Regions from separate parts of the Homo sapiens genome. Here all the other regions are linked to region 3. Evidence: promoter capture Hi-C in 16 types of primary human blood cells and fetal thymus (Javierre and others, 2016). All regions are on one chromosome and are shown on one strand. The core of a region is centred on a gene start or on the middle of the fragment in contact, and the rest is flanking DNA. Distances in the headings are between cores, read along the strand shown. Region 1 holds the start of SLC4A3 (solute carrier family 4 member 3). Region 2 holds the start of CFAP65 (cilia and flagella associated protein 65). Region 3 overlaps LOC105373883 (a long non-coding RNA gene).

Region 1 (2,700 bases), core at 168-2,667, 260 kb after region 3:
GATTACAGGTGTGAGCCACCGCACCTGGCCAATTTCCCCTTTTCACTGGAACACCAGTCATAATGGATGAGTCCACCCTTATCTTAACATCTGCAAGAACGTTATTGCCAAATAAGGGCACACTCTGATGTACCAGGGGTTAGGACTTCAACGTATAAATTTTGGGGGACACTACTCAACTCCCAACAGCTGGGTCTCCCATTCTGAGTTTTGGGGCACAGCTGTGCTCTGCCTAGGCATAGCTGATTCCCACCCTAGGAATTCCCACCTTGGGACTCACCATGTGAGACTTAGGAGGACAGTTCATCTCTTTCAGTTAAAAATTTTGTTTGTGGCTTGGAGAGTCACTTCAATACATGGATAATGATGCCCAAACCTGTCGGCAGCCTGCTTTCCAGCTGTGACCATGGCAGGTAACGAGCCTCCCTGAGTCTCCACTGTCCTCTGCCGACCAAATGGGAATCATAACAGCTCCTCTTATTATTATGCCTGAGACGAGGCAGCCAGTCTGGAGAGGGCCAACCTAGCACAGGACTGTGAGCACACACAAGACAATGTGGGCGTCCAACAGATCCTAGCTCCCTTCCCCTTGGAAGGCTATGCACACAGAAAATCTTTCCTTGGGTTGAGCTGAGATCTAGATGAGGCCAGGGGTCAGACGCGGTGAAGTACCAAGGTCACAGGGCTGTTATGGCATCGCACTGTGTAGAAGTCCAGTTTCATTGATCTCGGGATAGGGGCCGATTGGGGTCCAGTGGCTCCTTCGAAAGACCTTTTGCCCTTGGAAAATGAGATGTGACCTCAGGGATAGGGGGAGAAGGGAGAGGAAATGTGGAAACGGAGCCACACAGTCTTAGAGTTGCATAGAACTTTGGAACACCCCTATTGCAGGCCCCTCTCGCTACAGCTGGGGAAGCTGAGGCGGGAGGAGGGGAGGTACTGTGTCAAGGTCAAACGTTGGGTGGTGCCAGGCGACAGAAGCCAGGCCTTTGAGAGGCAAGGCTGTGGTAGAAATGAAAGGGGAGGTGGTGGGTGCTTCCAGGGGTCTGTGAGCTCCGTTCCCAAGACTGGAGGGGCCTGTGTCTGCGGAGGGGGTGGCTTCCTGGGCTCTGGAGGGGAGGGGAGGCTAAAAGCAGGGTTGGGGAGCGAATCTGGGGGATTGTGGGAATATCGGGCCGCGCCCCAGCCCCCAGCGATGCGTGGGGCGCCTGGAGAAGGGGCGCACGGGCAGGTGGGGTGCTGCGGGGCCCGCGCGTGGGGGCCGCGCCGGCCGGGGCGGGGTGAGTCACGGCCCGCCCGCTCCCATTGTGCGGCCCGGCGGCGGCGGCGGCGGCGGCGGCGGCGGCGGAGGTGCGGAGCGGAGCGCGAGGAGGTGGAGCCGCGGGCTGCGGGCTCCGGCGCCTGCGTCCGCCCGGCCAGCCCGGCTCTGCGCTGCGAGAGGCCGGACGGCAGTCGCGGCTGCGCTCGGGAGAGAGCGCGGGGGACATGGGGCGCGGCGGCCCGCCTGGGCCTCGCAGGCTCCGGAGCCCCGAGGTACCGCGGGGCGGGGCACGCCGGGCAGGGCGGGGGACCCGGGCTGTCCCGGGCGTGGCTGGGCCTCGGAGGGGCGCTTGGGCCGGGAGCGTGCATCCGGCTCCCGGGTGGGGGGCGCCAGCGCAAGGAACCTGACCCCGCCCTCCTCCCCCAGGGCTCCCCGCTAGGCCCCCTCAGTGGCCCCTCCTTCTCACCTGGGTCTCGGGTCCCCTAGTGAGCGAGAGCGTCCCCAGCCGCCTACCTGGCCATGGCCAACGGAGTGATCCCGCCGCCCGGGGGCGCCTCCCCCCTACCCCAGGTGATCGGCGCGCGCGGGGGCGGGGGAGAGATGGGGGAGGAGAGGGGAGGGACCTTAGGGTGGGCAGAGGAGTCCTCTGGCCGACCCCGGGACCCCCCAGATCCAGGGATGAGCTGGGCTGGGGGTTACGGAGAAAGAGGGGGGTTTTTGATATTTTCCAGATCCGTAGCCCTCTCTCTTTACAAGCTCTGGGAGCCCAGAGAGGGTGGTTTCTGGGATGCTGACACAGGCCTGGGAGCAAGGGGAGGGGGCCCGATGGTGTGAGAGCCTGCTGAGCTCCCCCAACTAGGGCTTGGAGTTGGGGTGGGTGTGGGGCCTTCATGGGTCAGGGGTCCTTAGCAGAGGCCGTCTGGGCCTGCAGGTCCGGGTGCCCTTGGAGGAGCCCCCTCTAAGTCCAGACGTGGAGGAGGAGGACGATGACTTGGGCAAGACCTTGGCTGTGAGCAGGTTTGGGGACCTCATCAGCAAGCCCCCGGCCTGGGACCCCGAGAAGCCCAGCCGCAGCTACAGCGAGCGGGACTTTGAGTGTGGGTAGCCTGGGGACCCCTAGTGCGGCCGCCCTCGCCACCATCACCTTCATCGCCACCATCACCGCGCTCACCTCCGGCTTGGTCACCCAGTGCCATCCTGTGCCGGACACTGTGCTGGACTCTGTGCTGGGCCACATGCCGTGTTCAGTCATCCTGCCTCCCCCACCCATCGCCTGTCCGCCTGCCTGGGGAGGTGGGCCCCAGACCAGGGGAGATCTAGGGAGCTGGGCCTGGGCCCTTCCACGGTGACCTTCCCCTTCCCCTTCGTCCCCACTCACTCCCTCCTTGTCCCACCTCGGCTAGTCCAACTCCGCCTTTCCCCTCCTTGCTGTATCACGT
Region 2 (2,700 bases), core at 118-2,617, 320 kb before region 3:
CAGGTATTTTAATTCTTACAACAGTTTATGATTACGTGTGACTTGCCCATTTATTTGGCCTAAAATGATCCTTTTTCAAGTTTGTCGTTTAGTTCCTTATTTTAATGTGTTCAGATTTAGCAAACAATTTCATGATCACCCTTTAGGAATTTATACAGTTCCATCAGACACTCTCTTATCCCTCCCCCACCACCCACCAACACCCTTCCAAAGCGGAAGATTCTGTTGACCCTGGTTTTCCTAGTTGGCAACATGTCTAAACCCTCTGGAGGGGACTATCTAGATTCAGTCGTTCGTTCATTCACAAAGCACTTACTATTATGTACCAGGTACTGTGCTAGGCACCAGACAAGGCAGGCAAGGCTCCTACCTCCAATTGTGAACTGGACGTTCAGATGAAATCAAAGAAATGTAAGCTGAGGAGACACAGAGAGAGTCCATTACTTTTCTGCCACGGGATGGTCTTGCAGCCCTGTCCTGACTCATTAATGCCTCTGACCTCAGGGGACTGTACAGACAGCTCCTGCCTCAGAGCTCTGAAAAAGTCTCCACTCAACACATGAAACTATTCCAGAGAGTGCATGGAAGAGATGAGAGATGATGGGGTAGAAAGCTGGTCCAACACAGGTCATAGGGCTAGGGAAGTGGTCCCAGGGCAAGGGACGCTGGGTGCCAGCATCTTCTCAGACTCTACGGGGATAGGCAAATTTCTCCATCTCCCGGAGCCTCAGCCTCCTCGCCTGTAAAATGTGGGTTATCCTGACGATTTCACAAAGTCGATGTGCAGCTCGAATGAAACAGAGGATTTGAAAAAGCACTAAACAAACACGTTATAGTAATTAACAACCATAACTTTCCCACTAGCCTGCACTATTCTTCCAAAAGACTCACACATCTGCAGTCGTTGTGAAGAGACTGGGCAAGCGAGGTTTTTTGTTTTGTTTTGGATTTGTTTTGTTTTAAATTGAAGTTTCCAATTTCGAGGACTTTAAAAAATATATATCATGAGCTTCCTTTATTTGCCTAATTGCTGATCTAAAAATCTCCAAGATGACCACTAGAAAAAGTGGCAGGTCGTCGTATAGAGTCGAGGGAGAAAGAAATAGATGAAACAAAGGGGGACAAAATACACTTAGAGCTGTTTCTTCTTTCTCTTCGGGATCCTTAGTCTGATTGATCTCGCCCAAGACTCAGTCCCATGGGGCTCTCTGAAGGGCATGGAGGGGACCTCTGGCCACGATTTCCCGAAGGATAGGGTCTCCCGGGACAGATACCTTCCCTGGCCACTCGCGCCGCTCCCTGAGACCCTGGGACCTTGGGACTAACGCTCAGAACTTACATCGCCTCCATATTGCCGTCTCCATAGATACAGGACGCGCAGGAAACGGCGTCTTCAGATATCCCAGGGCAACGACGGCAGCCCGAGTAAGTCAAGATTCGTAGAAGGCGAAGGCACCGCCCAATTTTATTTCCTATATTCAGTTTTGATTCCCTGACTTTTCCTGCTGGTAGTAACTGTGGGCTTCTACCTGTCGCGACATGGTAATGTAGAGCCTCCTAGTTGTCGTGACGTTCCAGCAATCATGACTTTAATTGACGACCAAATTCACAGGAAGCTACTCTGTGGGCTTGGCACTCTGACATGCATAGAGACAGAAGCTCATTCTCTGTGATTGCAATTGTTAACTTAAAAGCAGCCCGCAGTTATTTCTTATTTGAATATTGCTTTGCAAATAGAACCCTTTTGCTGATGAGAGGGAATGCGTCCTCTGCGTTTTCTCCCGGCATTTCTTCTTGGTCAGCAACAAGAAAAATAACTCTTTTGAAGGGATCGGAAGGTTAATGTATAAAGGAATTATTATACATAATGTAGACTTTCGGAAGCCCATTGGTTCATTTGTTGGTATGTGTGTTGGAGGAAGGGTCCTATTTTGTGAAGACTCCTTAGTAGGTGAAGCTGAAAGTCTCAAAGTTCACTCTTGGGTAACTAAGGATGTTTTGCTCCTCAAGACAGTGAACCTATTTCCTTTCAGATGGAAGGGGGGATGTGACTAGGGGGAGAGAGCTTAGTGAGTCTAGGGGTAAACACAGAAAATAAGCTATCATTTTGGGAGAGTTGGAGTTGACTTGTGAAAGGTGAAAGATGGACTGAGATGGCAAAGTGGCCTGAGCTGGCCTGGGAGATCACATGGCCAGAGACTGGCAGGGCTGGAGGGAAGGGGCAGGCAGGGCGCCTGGTAAATTACGCCAGCAGGATCAAGAGTTTTCCGGGAATCAAAGAATGTGGAACTCAGTGAGCTTTTCCCTGGATTTAATGGGATTCTCAGAATCTGAAACCTGCACTTTGGACATGACGACTTTTATGCTGTTTGTAGTTTCTATAATTATTTCCTTTTTGTTTTTCCCCAAATTCTTTTTGAAATGGTCAGCCTAACTCAGCTGGACCTTAAGGACAAGGAAAGGAACTGGTTCATTCTTAGGCGAAAATGAAATAGGGACTTTGGGGGCAGGGTTTGGTGTTGGCCCCAGGAATCTCAGTGGGAAAACTCCAAGGAGGAAGCACAGCTCATGCTAAAGGCGTCCTCGTGCCTCTTCACCGGGGAGTCTCCTTCCTGAGCTCTTGCCTGCTCAATGGTGGATTCTGGGTTTGGAAAAATTAAAGGGAATGGTTCCTCCTCTTAGCAGGGCCCCTGTAGCCTC
Region 3 (2,700 bases), core at 79-2,578:
AGATTGTGCCACTGCATTCCAGCCTGGGTGACAGAGCAAAACTCCATCTCAAAAAAAAAAAAAAAAAGAGAGAGAAGAGGCAGCTCCTCCGAGATGGGTCAGAGCTCTATGGGGAGCCCCAGGTGGGCATCTAGATGGTGAAGAGCCCAAAGACTCTAGAAGTGGGTTCTCGGGACTTGCGCATGCGTACATGTGTTTATATGTGTATACATGTGTTTATATGTTTGTGCATGGGTGTTGTGTCCATGTGTTTATATGTGTGTGCATGTGTTTGTATGAATCAATGTGTACTGTATGCATGTGTGTTTGTGTGTGCGTATGTAGGTTTGTATGTGTGGGAGATGTATTTGTGTATGTAGATGGGATGTGTGTGTCAATGTGTATATGTGTACATGTAGTGTACTTGTATTCATTGTCTATTACTTTTTTTAAAAATCCAGTTTTAGCAAAGAATATCTATGGCTTATTGCTACATGACAAATTACCCCAAAGCTTAGTCGCTTAAACTATAAACATCTATTTCACAGTTTCTGTGGACTGGGAATCTGAGAGAGGCTTAGCTGGGTATTTTTGGTTCAGGGTCTCTCTTGAAGTTGCAGTGAAGATGTTACTCAGGGTTGGCTGTAGTCTTCTGAAGGCTTGCGTGGGGCTAGAGGATCCACTTTCAAGATGACTCACCCTCCTGGCAAGACGATGCTGGCTGTTGGCAGGAGGTCTCAGTTCCCTACCACATCAGCCTCTCCATATGGCTGCTTGAGTGCCTCATGACACAGCAGCTGGCTTCCTCTGGAGTGAGTGACCTGAGAGAGAGAGAGAACCAGGCAAAAGCCACAGTGTTTTTAAAACCTAGCTTTGGAAGTCCCATGCCATCATTTCTGCCATATTATACTGGCCACAGAGACCAACCCTGATACACTGTGGGAGGGACTACACAAAGGCATGAATTCCAAGAGGTAAGGATCACTGGAGGTCATCTTGTAGGATGGCTATCACATGCAGTATGTGCGTGTGGGTATGTGGGGTGTGTGTTTGTGGGTGTGTACATAAAGATGTGTGTGTTTGTGTATATATGTGTATGTTTTTGCATATGTATATATGGATATATAGCAATATGTTTGTGTGACATGTATCTATGTATTGTCTGCATATGTGTATGCATGCATTTATGTATATGTATCTGTGTATTGCACATGTGTGTTTTTTGCGCACGAGTATGCATGCATGTATTATGCCTACATGCATGTCTCTGTGTTTGTATGTTGTGCATGTGTGCATATATGTGTATGCCTTTTTGTATGTATTTGTAGTATGTGAATGAGCATATGTATGCATGTGTGATGGGTTTGTATATGTATCCAGGTGTATATGTGTGTCTATGCCTGTGGCTGTATATGTTTGCAAACATTGTATGTGCATGTGCACCTGTGTTGTGTGTGTGCATGTATGCTTACATGTGTGTGTTTCTGTATAGATGTCCATGTGTAAGTCCGCATGTGTCTGTTTATGTGTGTGTAGGTGTATATATGTTACGTTTATGTATGTGTGTGAGGTGTATGTGTGTAGGTTTGAGAATATGTGTGTGCATTACTATGTACATATTGCACTTGTATATATAAATGTGTGCTGGCACATGCATACAAACTTAGGAATGTCACCTGCTGTGGGAGGAAAGCCTGGAGTCAGGAGTGGGGAGACTCAGGGAGGAGTCCCTATTATTCCTGGGGTAGCCCATGAGTGGAAGGCTCTGGAGCCTGGAGAGCAGGCTCTCCCTTGCATTTAGGATATGTGGATCCATGGTCCTCTGCATCTGGCTTTCCTTTGTCAAGGCTTTCTGTTGTTGTTCATTTTTGTTTGAACATTTCAGTCTTTCCTAAGCTGTCAAATAAAGCAGCAGAGAAAGGGTGGTCTCTATTGCCTGGAAGTTGAGAGTTCAGTGTAGACTAGTGCCCCTTTGGGGCTGGCCTGGGGAAAACAAGGGGATTTCCCTGGAGAGCACGGCTGACCCTCCCTCTCATCTCTTCTCGCCTAGGGCCACTCTGGGAGCTTCTGGAGTTTATTGGGCAAGAAGGGAGGGCATTTCTTTACTTCTAATAATCCAGTCATCTTAGGAGCCACTCTTTTCCTCTTTCCATTTAGAATATTTCTGACACCAACTTTTGTGTTTAGAAGCTTTTATGCTTTTTTTTAAAAAAAGTATTTTTACCTTTTGATTATGAAAGGTAATACATATGAACAGAAGTAGACAGAATGTAAAGATACAGCTCAACAGATTTTCAGAGTGAATAGCCATTTATACTATCCAATAAGAGGGTTCAGGACATGCCACCCAGAAACATGGCACACTGGCATGTTGAATATTTTAAGCTGGAAGGATCTGAGAAACAGCATGTGCAGGACAATCTCTCTGACTTCCCTGATCCTTCTCTCCTGAAGGGATCTCCCTGATCCTTTCCCCATGTGAAAGGTGTCCTTCCTCCAAAGATGGGGACACAGACAGGAATCTGAACACATGGGCCTTGTTAAGTCTTTTGGGTAAATAAAATTAGTTTTAAGATTGTTGGCAGGCTGGGCGCAGTGGCTCACACCCCTAATCCCAGTGCTTTGGGAGGCTGAGACAGGAGCATTACTTGCGCCCAGGAGTTTGAAACCAGCTTGGACAACATACTGAGACTTGGTCTTTACAAAAAGTTTAAAAAGTAG

Evidence for each region. Contacts are between HindIII fragments. The CHiCAGO score rates a contact against its expected background, and 5 or more counts as called.
Region 1: the fragment with the promoter of SLC4A3 here is called in contact with a fragment that was not itself captured in region 3 in 1 of 17 cell types (neutrophils); the score reaches 5.2 in neutrophils.
Region 2: a contact is called between the fragment with the promoter of CFAP65 here and a fragment that was not itself captured in region 3, in 2 of 17 cell types (total CD8 T cells and total CD4 T cells). The highest score is 5.5, in total CD8 T cells.

What each region holds. Positions count from the first base shown.
Region 1 is chr2:219,626,213-219,628,912 of GRCh38, forward strand. It overlaps SLC4A3 (solute carrier family 4 member 3), which reads left to right and starts at 1,418. Exons shown (of 23, transcript NM_005070.4): 1 at 1,418-1,533; 2 at 1,688-1,831; 3 at 2,193-2,358. The coding sequence starts at 1,781. LOC124908064 (a long non-coding RNA gene) reads right to left here and starts at 1,798. Exons shown (of 2, transcript XR_007088701.1): 1 at 1,728-1,798. RefSeq lists enhancers at 1,921-2,623, 2,624-2,700. The HindIII fragment of the contact is 16,254 bases long and covers 1-2,700 here.
Region 2 is chr2:219,040,149-219,042,848 of GRCh38, forward strand. CFAP65 (cilia and flagella associated protein 65) reads right to left here and starts at 1,368. Exons shown (of 35, transcript NM_194302.4): 1 at 1,340-1,368; 2 at 371-416. The HindIII fragment of the contact is 30,940 bases long and covers 1-2,700 here.
Region 3 is chr2:219,362,009-219,364,708 of GRCh38, forward strand. LOC105373883 (a long non-coding RNA gene) reads right to left here. Exons shown (of 2, transcript XR_923917.3): 2 at 494-800. Among named protein-coding and RNA genes, the nearest start is that of DNPEP, 25 kb to the right of the region's middle. RefSeq lists an enhancer at 555-604. The HindIII fragment of the contact is 1,677 bases long and covers 491-2,167 here.